Regions from separate parts of the Homo sapiens genome. Here regions 1 and 3 are each linked to region 2. Evidence: promoter capture Hi-C in human tissues and cell types (Jung and others, 2019). All regions are on one chromosome and are shown on one strand. Each heading gives the region's core, a stretch centred on a gene start or on the middle of the fragment in contact. The rest is flanking DNA. Distances are from core to core; before and after follow the strand shown. Region 1 holds the start of NPLOC4 (NPL4 homolog, ubiquitin recognition factor). Region 2 holds the start of DCXR (dicarbonyl and L-xylulose reductase). Region 3 holds the start of MRPL12 (mitochondrial ribosomal protein L12).

Region 1 (3,340 bases), core at 553-3,052, 400 kb after region 2:
TTAGAAATTATGGTTTAGGAGTCATGTAGCTGGAGGCTACAAGATTCTAAACCTCCCAAATTGCTTCTCAGGATAACATCACTATTAAAAAACAGATCAGCGCTTGAGATATTTTGCAGACTCTGCACTCCATGGATCAGCTGGCACCACCCAGATTGATAAACTGGCTCATATCTTGTGGCCCCCACCCAGGAACCGACTCAGCACAAGAGGACAGTTTTGACTCCCTATCATTTCACCTCTGACCCAACCAATCAACACTCCCTACTTTCTGACCCCATACCCACCAAATTATCCTTAAAACCGCGGATCCCCAGCCGGGCACGGTGGCTCACGTCTATAGTCCCAGCACTTTGGGGAGGCCCAGGTGGGCGGATCACCTGAGGTCAGGAGTTCAAGACCAGCCTGACCAACATGGAGAAACTCCGTCTCTACGAAAAATACAAAATTAGCCAGGCATGGTAGTGTGCGCCTGTAGTCCCAGCTACCCGGGAGGCTGAGGCAGGAGAATCACTGGAACCCAGGAGGTGAAGGTTGCAGTGAGCCGAGATCGCGCCACTGCACTCCAGTGTGGGTGACAGAGTGAGATTCGGACTCAAAAACAAAAAAAAACAAAAAACAAAAAACTCTGATCCCTGAATTCTCAAGGACACTAATTTTTTTTGAGTAGTAATAAAACCTCAGTAACCTGTACAAGCTGGCTCTGTGTGAATTAAACTCTTTATTGCAATTCCCCTGTCTTGATAAAGTCTAGGCAGTGGGCAGGGACAATATGTTGGGTAGTTACAGTGGCACCCTGAGCAAACTAATACAATTACTAACATAATTTAATCAATTAATGTAATTTAACATAGTTTAAAAAAACTGTCACAGTAATTGTGATGTTGTGAAATATGTATACATTTAGTCTTCCGGTTTCCTGGTATCCAACTCCAAAAATCCTTAGAATCTGTGAAGTGACGTCTTTTTTTTTTTTTTTTGAGATGAAGTCTCACTCTGTCGCCCAGACTGGAGTGCAGTGGCACCAACTCAGTTCATTCTAACCTCCGCCTCTTCGCTTCAAGAGATTCTCCGGCCTCAGACTCCCGAGTAGCTGGGATTACAGGTGCCCGCCACCACGCCCAGTTAATTTTTGTATTTTTAGTAGAGACGGGGTTTCACCACGTTGGTCAGGCTGGTCTTGAACTCCTGACCTCAGGTGATCCACCTGCCTCGGCCTCCCAAAGTGCTGGGATTACAGGCGTGAGCCACCGCGTATGGCCTAATTTTGTATTTTGAGTAGAGACGGGGTTTCACCATTTTGGCCAGGCTGGTCTCGAACTTTTGACCTCAGGTGATCCGTCCACCTTGGCTTCCCAAAATGCTGGGATTACAGGTATGAGCCACCGCGCCCGGCCTGAAATGCAGTTTAAACTCGTTTGTTTTTCTTATGTTAAATTTAAAAAATACTTAAAAAAAAAAACATGAAGGTGTGATCCTGCCTTCCTGAAATTGTTTCTCTACTTACCTGTGCATGGAGAGAAGTTTGGAATGCTGTTTCCCCAATTATAATACGCTATAATACGCAGCAGTAGTTATTTTTGGGTGAGACTTCGGATGCTCGTCTTTGCTTCCTTTTTGGACTTTCCTGTGCCGCTTGGGTTTCCGAGGACGAGCAGAAGTAATCTCAGACGCAACTTTCCAAAATCCCCTCCTCCAGTTGCAGGGATGGCGGGGGCGGGTCAGCGGCGCCGCCCTGCGCATGCGTCGAGCCGTTGGTGGGGCCGGAACCTGGTTTCCCGGCCTCGCGCCCGAGGGGAGCGTATTGAGCGAGGCACCGGGACGTCGGCGGCTGGCGGAGCCGGGCGGGCGAAGCTGGAGCGGCGGTGGCGGCGGCGTAGGGAGGCCGGGGCCGGGGCTGAGGCCGCGGCCGGGTCTGCGAGGCCCTTGGGGCGGCAGGCGGCGGCGGCCCGGGGCTCGAGCCCGGAGGCAGGAGCAGCCGCCATGGCCGAGAGCATCGTGAGTGCGGCGGCCGGGCGGGAGCGGGGACGCCGGGATGAGGCAGCAGATTTGCCGGCCTCGGCCTGTGGGGGAGGCGGGCCTGCCGGCGCCGCGACTCGGCCCCTTTCTCTTCTCTCGCCAGGGCTTTCTCTGTAGTGGCTGGGCCCCTCTCGGGGACTTTCACCCCCCTCGGCTGCTTCCCGTCCGTGTCCCTCCCCAGGGGACTTACGACCCCGGTTCCCCGCCCTGGGCAGGGAAAGGCCGAGCCTTTCTAAGCAGGGAGAATGGACTGTGGCGAAGAGAAACCGCCCTCCTTCCCCACCCGTTTCCCGGCTCCAGGAGACTTCCTGGTCTAATTCCAGGGACTCCCAGCCAGTCCTGCCCCTCTCAGAGCCAGGGACACCTCTTATCCTAATCTCCCTCTGATTCTCTCCTCCTGCTCTCCCGCTTCCCAGCAAGTGCCTTGTCATGAGTCACTAAGGAGAGCAGCTCTGCAGACGGGGACGTTACAGAGCTCCCTCCCCACCAGAAGACCTGGGAAAATGAAAACACAGTAACTTGCCGGCTTTGCTCCTTACTTGGAAGGACAACTTGACAATTCCTCTTTAAAAGGAATGTTGTAAATGATGTTGATTTCACTTTTTACCTGAAATTGAAATTGTCGGCCCGGCGCAGTGGCTCACGCCTGTGATGTCAGCACTTTGGGAGGCCGAGGCGGGTGGATCACCTGGGGTCAGGAGTTCGAGACCATCCTGGCCAACATGGCAAAATCTTGTCTCTACTAAAAATACAAAAAATTAGCCGGGCGTCATGGCGCACTGTAATCCCAGATACTTGGGAGGCTGAGGCAGGAGAATTGCTTGAACGCGGGAGGTGGAGGTTACAGTGAGCTGAGATCCCTCCATGGCACTCCAGCCTGGGCTATAGAGCGAGACTGCGTCTCAAAAAAAAAAAAAAAATTGTCACACACTCCTCCTTAACGTAAAAAATATCAGTGACAAATCAGAAAACCAGTCCCTCGTTAAGTTGTGAGAAGTTTCTTCCCAAAAGTAAATGTGATGGGAAAAAAACTAACTGACCATTGGACAGGAGCATTTTGGTTAATATTAAGGAAGATTTGGGATTTCTGGGGGAAGCTTAGCAGTATTGGGTGAAGAGTAATGTTCATACTGTAGCATTGTGACAGTCTCTGCAGTTTTGCCAGGTGTTGTCTAGAATAGGTCTCCAGGCCCGGCGCGGTGACTCACACCTGTAATCCCAGCACTTTGGGAAGCCCAGGTGGGTGGATCACCTGAGGTCAGGAGTTCAAGACCAGCCTGGACAACATAGTGAGCCTAGGTGGCGTCACTGGACTCCACCC
Region 2 (2,601 bases), core at 1-2,500:
CAGCCTCCCACAAGAAGCTGGTGGAGCAGAGTGTTCCCTGACGCCTCCAAGGAAAGGAGACTCCCCTTCGCAGTCTTCTAAGTAACGGGTGGCTTCCCAGACAACGGCATTACTGCTTGACCAAGGAGCCCTCAAGCAGCCCTTATGCGGGAGTGACAGAGGGCTCACCTCTTGCCTTCTAGGTCACTTCTCACAATGTCCCTAGGTTATATTAGTAATGCAACAAAGAGTAATATTAAAAGCTAATGATTAATAATGTTTATACTAATGATTGATAATTATCCATGATCATGATCATTTTTATATCTAATTTGTATTATGACTATTTTTATTTTAACTGTTTTTTTTTTAAAGATGGAGTCTTGCTCTGTCGCCCAGGCTGGAGTGCAGTGGCGCAATCTCGGCTCACTGCAAGCTCCGCCTCCTGGGTTCGCGCCATTCTCCTGCCTCAGCCTCCTGAGTAGCTGGGACTACAGGTGCCCGCCACCGCGCCCGGCTAATTTTTTGTATTTTTAGTAGAGATGGGGTTTCACCGTGTTAGCCAGGATGGTCTCGATCTCCTGACCTCGTGATCCACCCGCCTCGGCCTCCCAAAGTGCTGGGATTACAGGCGTGAGCCACCGCTCCCGGCCTATTTTCTTTGTTATACTGAAACAGTTTGTGTCTTCAGTCTCTTGCCTTGGCATCTAGGTAATCCTTCGCCCACAGATGAAAGCGGAGCTCTGCTGACATTGGTGTCTTCTCCAGACGTAGTTGGTTGTCCAAATTCTTTCCCTTGGCTTTAAAGTGAGCCGGCGGTGTCCTGCTCCCAAGCCTGAGAGATGATGGGCACAGGCGACACTTTTTAGGACATGCCGATGTTTTCAGAAACAAAACAAGAAATGTTAGCCCTGAAATTCTCCATTTCACGTGTTCTTCCTGATATTAACCACACATTCTTTCCGATATTAACCACCACATCGTCTTTTTGCAATAATCTTGGCAGGGAAAAATATGCTAGCCAGGGTCCACTACGTCGATTTCAAGCACGGAAGATGGGTCACACCAGGCACTTCAAAAGACCCGTCCCTGAGGCAGCGGAGACCCCGCCCCGCCCCGGCGCGCCCACTCCTTTCGGCCAATCACTGCAGCGGGGAGCAGCTATTTGAATGTCCCCACCGCCTATCTGAAGGCCGCCCTGCCATTGGCCCCGCCGCGCCCCGCCCATCGTGGCCAGAGCTTCAAGTTCCGCAGCCCCAGTGCGGAGGGCGGAGACTGCGCCGACATGGAGCTGTTCCTCGCGGGCCGCCGGGTGCTGGTCACCGGGGCAGGCAAAGGTGGGCGGCGGGGAAAGGTGGGCAAAGGCCGGCGGCGGGCAGAGGCGGGCAGGGGACGCCTTCACTGAGCCCGCTCCCGGCAGGTATAGGGCGCGGCACGGTCCAGGCGCTGCACGCGACGGGCGCGCGGGTGGTGGCTGTGAGCCGGACTCAGGCGGATCTTGACAGCCTTGTCCGCGAGGTAGGTCCCGCCGGGTCCCAGCGCTGCGAGGCGGCGAGCCAGGAGGGGGCGGCAGCGAGCGGGGGCGGTACCTCTGTGCGCGACTCCGCCTCCCCTCGCGGGCGCTGCGCTTCTCACCGCGGCCTGGGCGCCCGCGCACCCTCTCTCGGGGCTGGTGGCCTGCGTGGGCGGCCGGGTGGTCGGCAGAGCCGCCGGGGCCCCCGGGCTCAGAAAGAGGCCGAAATGGCTGCGAAGCAGGCCCCGGGCAGGAGTCGCTCGGGCGCAGGGAGGAAGTGAACCGGCCGGAGGTAGCGCCCGGCTGCTGGCCCCACAGTCCCGACACCTTCGGAACTCCTAACTCCTTTACTTGTCCGGCTGAAAGGTCACCAGCCCCAGTCCCCAGCTGTGCCGCTTGCTGGGCACAGAGCCTCTGGTAACTGCCCCCTGATACACACAGTGCCCGGGGATAGAACCCGTGTGCGTGGACCTGGGTGACTGGGAGGCCACCGAGCGGGCGCTGGGCAGCGTGGGCCCCGTGGACCTGCTGGTGAACAACGCCGCTGTCGCCCTGCTGCAGCCCTTCCTGGAGGTCACCAAGGAGGCCTTTGACAGGTGAGCCTGTGAGGGCGGAGGAACCTCAGGGAGGGGCTGTCCTGGAGGACGCAGCAGCCCTAATCTCTGACCAGGGTCTGTCCCTCGGCCTCTAGATCCTTTGAGGTGAACCTGCGTGCGGTCATCCAGGTGTCGCAGGTGAGCTGCCCTGTGGGCTGGACGGGAATTCTCGTGAGTGATGCCAGCTCTGCCTCACGGTCTCGCTGCGATTCCAGATTGTGGCCAGGGGCTTAATAGCCCGGGGAGTCCCAGGGGCCATCGTGAATGTCTCCAGCCAGTGCTCCCAGCGGGCAGTAACTAACCATAGCGTCTACTGTGAGTGCCCCAGCTGTGCCCTCAGCCCCACCCCAGCCCCAGCCTCGCCCTCATCACCGACCCCAGCCCCAGCCAGCTTGGGTTCCTCTTCGTAGGCTCCACCAAGGGTGCCCTGGACATGCTGACCAAGGTGATGGCCCTAGAGCTCGGGCCCCACAAGGTGAGCAGGGCTGGGGTACCTCCCCCAACCTAGGACAC
Region 3 (2,700 bases), core at 1-2,500, 330 kb after region 2:
CAGTGTCCACAGCTGGCCCTCACACCAGCCGGAACCTACTGAGGAGGGGCAACTAGCCTGGCATGGACCTTGCACCTGGACAAACACACTTTTGACAATTTACCAAACTCCCAAAATACACCAGGAACAAAACACAGGGGCCCTGAAACTTCCAGCCCCTGGGTCTGTGCCACCCTCTCACGATACCTTCAGGAGCTCGTTGAGGTCTGAGATTTCCAAGAGAGTGAGGCTGGCGATGTCCTGGACCAGCTGCTGTATCTTGGGGGGGTACTCCTTGGGGGCGTTATCCAGGGGTGCACCAGCGAGGGCCTCACACCTCTGATGGCCGCTGCTCCTCATATGTCGCACGGCACAGACACATGGCACCTGTCGCCTAGCCCCCACCCCCAATTAAAACAGACTTGTCAGTCCTGGAATGGAAGGGGCTGCAGAAACCAGAGGGGCAGGACAACTGGGGGACTGGTGGGTGCCATAAGCTCAGGCTGGTAATCACTAGGGCCGGAAATTACCTAGCTCCTTGGTCCCAGTCCAGGGTTCTCAGACCTCAAGGGGTCCGTATTGATAAGATTTGCAAGTTACTTTAAATTCTTCAAAGAGCCTTAGAAAGCCACGTGTTTATTTGCAGCCATACCACTCAAACCTCAAGTTTCTGGTTTGAATGAACTACATCAACCCAGCGGTGGCGAAACTATTACTTAGGTGCATCTTCCTGCGCAAAGCCTCCCAAAACATGGGGGCCCCTGGCCGCAAAACGCCGCACCCACGGATGGGCCTTTGCTGCGGAAAAGGCTGAGGCCAAGGGAGGAGCAGGGAATCGTCCAAGGTCATCTGGGGCCGACCCCGGCGCTTTCCACGGCCCAGGAGGGAAGGGGCGTGCGCACCGGGAGGCCTCCTCCCCGCGCCCCCGATGGGACCCCCAAGCCCGGCCTGGCCGCTGCAGGGAGGCCGGCCCCGCCGCCCTCCTCGCCCGGATCGACCCCTCAGTGCCCGGCTGCCCCCTAACCCGCCTGCCGGCCCGGACCGCCCCAGGATCCCGCGTACCTGGCAAGGCGGAACGCAGCGGCCCGAAGCCCAAGGCAAGGCCCCCACAGGGGGCGAGCGGCCGCCGGCAGCATCGGTCCGCGGGCTGGAAGGTCACACGCGGTTCCCCGGGAGGAGGCGACGCTCTAGCCGCCTCGGCCGCCGGGCATTCGAGCTGGGGAGGAACGCTCTAGCCGCCACGGCTGCCGGGCATTCGAGCCGGAAATGACGCTCTAGCCGTACCTCGCGCTAGCCTCGTCTCACCCTGAGATTACCCACAAGGCGGCGCGCTGCGCAGACGCAAAAGCGTCGTCTGTGGCGGCAGCTAGACATCGGGCGACCCTCGTCCCGCCAGGTTTTGGGGTCGCGCAAACGAGCGACGGGGGCTGGGGCTCCGGATTCAGGTGTTCTTTCTTCAGCGCTCACGGGTTTCTGTCCGTACGCGATGCGAGCGAACGTCGCGGTCGAGGCTAGGGCCCCGAAGCCCGCAGTAATCCACGTCTCCCGCCCGCTCCGGGCCCCCAGTGCCGCCGTCGCGGGCGGAGGCGCGAGGTCTGGGCTTTGGCGCCTTCGCAGCCGCAGGCGACATCCTCTTTCCTAGCTAAAGCCCCAAACGCCCAGGTGGCTTCCTGGGAGAGCACGGCTGAGCCTCCGCCTTCAGATCAGAACAGGCAGAGCCTCCAAGGGCGGCTTGGGCCCAGTGCCTGCTTATCCTGCCCGTCTCTCCACACTTCTTCTTTCCCTGTCCGTTGGAGTCCATTCCTTCCTGGAAAAGCCAAAGCCGCGCTCCCCTAAGAGGCCTGGATGTGAAGGTGAGTGAGACGCCCTGGCCTCTGGGTGCAAAGGCCGGCGCCTGCCGCTTTCAACACTCAGGAGGCGCGTTTCAGCCCCGCTGGCCCCCGGCCGCAGACTCGGAGCGCTGAGCTCCCACCGTTCCCATCACCCGACTCCCTTCCCAGGAATGAGGAGCACCCGGGAAGCTTCAGCCACTACACGAAGGAGGCGCCAAGCCCAAACTCCTCCCCAGCTACCGGCGGGGTCAGTGCAGAGCCGCGGAGGGCACACATGAACCCTGGCACGCAGCCTCAGGGAGGGGCAGGCTGGAAATGACCCTGCCTGCAGCTGGGCCATCAGCCTGACCACCTGCCCCCTGAGCAAACGTTGATGCAGGTCGGGCGCGGTGGCTCATGCCTGTAATCCCAGCACTTTAGGAGCCCGAGGCAGGTGGATCACCTGAGGTTAGGCGTTCACGACCAGCCTGGCCAACATGGTGAAACACCGTCGCTACTAAAAATACAAAAACTAGCCAGGCATGGTAATGGGGTGCACCTGTAGTCCAGCTACTCGGGAGGCTGAGGCCCGAGAATCGCTTGAACCCAGGAGGCGGAGCTTGCAGTGAGCGGAGATCACCACTCCAGCCTGGGTGACAGAGTGAGACTCCATCTCAAAAAAATTAATTAAAGAAAAAACGCTGATGCTTTCTGAAATACATTTTATTATCGCTGTACCATTCTGGGGCACTGGAGATGGCAGCTGAGAAGCAGAGAAGCTGGAGACCTGAAGCCTCCACCCTTGGCTGTGGCTGCCGAGAGAGGCCCCTGCAGAGGGAGCCCCAGGCCACACCCAGACACCACAGCCAGCTCACAGTGCGGCCAGAGGGCACAGGCTGCTTGGGGGGTG

Evidence for each region. The method cuts DNA at HindIII sites, captures the fragments that hold promoters and counts their contacts. A contact is called where the count stands out against the background at its distance.
Region 1: a contact is called between the fragment with the promoter of NPLOC4 here and the fragment with the promoter of DCXR in region 2, in 1 of the 25 tissues and cell types used here (mesenchymal stem cells).
Region 3: the fragment with the promoter of MRPL12 here is called in contact with the fragment with the promoter of DCXR in region 2 in 2 of the 25 tissues and cell types used here (lymphoblastoid cells and mesendoderm cells).

What each region holds. Positions count from the first base shown.
Region 1 is chr17:81,635,574-81,638,913 of GRCh38, reverse strand. NPLOC4 (NPL4 homolog, ubiquitin recognition factor) reads left to right here and starts at 1,802. Exons shown (of 17, transcript NM_017921.4): 1 at 1,802-1,998. The coding sequence starts at 1,984. It overlaps TSPAN10 (tetraspanin 10), which reads right to left and starts at 1,718. Exons shown (of 4, transcript NM_001290212.2): 1 at 1,508-1,718. RefSeq lists a silencer at 1,863-2,072. The HindIII fragment of the contact is 41,196 bases long and covers 1-3,340 here.
Region 2 is chr17:82,036,346-82,038,946 of GRCh38, reverse strand. It overlaps DCXR (dicarbonyl and L-xylulose reductase), which reads left to right and starts at 1,250. Exons shown (of 8, transcript NM_016286.4): 1 at 1,250-1,316; 2 at 1,400-1,497; 3 at 1,934-2,088; 4 at 2,184-2,226; 5 at 2,304-2,403; 6 at 2,499-2,563. The coding sequence starts at 1,265. DCXR-DT (DCXR divergent transcript) reads right to left here and starts at 1,029. Exons shown (of 2, transcript NR_159948.1): 1 at 679-1,029. RefSeq lists a silencer at 1,030-1,859. The HindIII fragment of the contact is 8,854 bases long and covers 1-2,601 here.
Region 3 is chr17:81,701,917-81,704,616 of GRCh38, reverse strand. MRPL12 (mitochondrial ribosomal protein L12) reads right to left here and starts at 1,250. Exons shown (of 5, transcript NM_002949.4): 1 at 1,042-1,250; 2 at 187-373. The coding sequence starts at 1,115. HGS (hepatocyte growth factor-regulated tyrosine kinase substrate) reads right to left here. Exons shown (of 22, transcript NM_004712.5): 22 at 2,496-2,700. RefSeq lists a silencer at 883-1,262 and enhancers at 1,163-1,766, 1,753-1,822, 1,767-2,370. The HindIII fragment of the contact is 19,787 bases long and covers 1-2,700 here.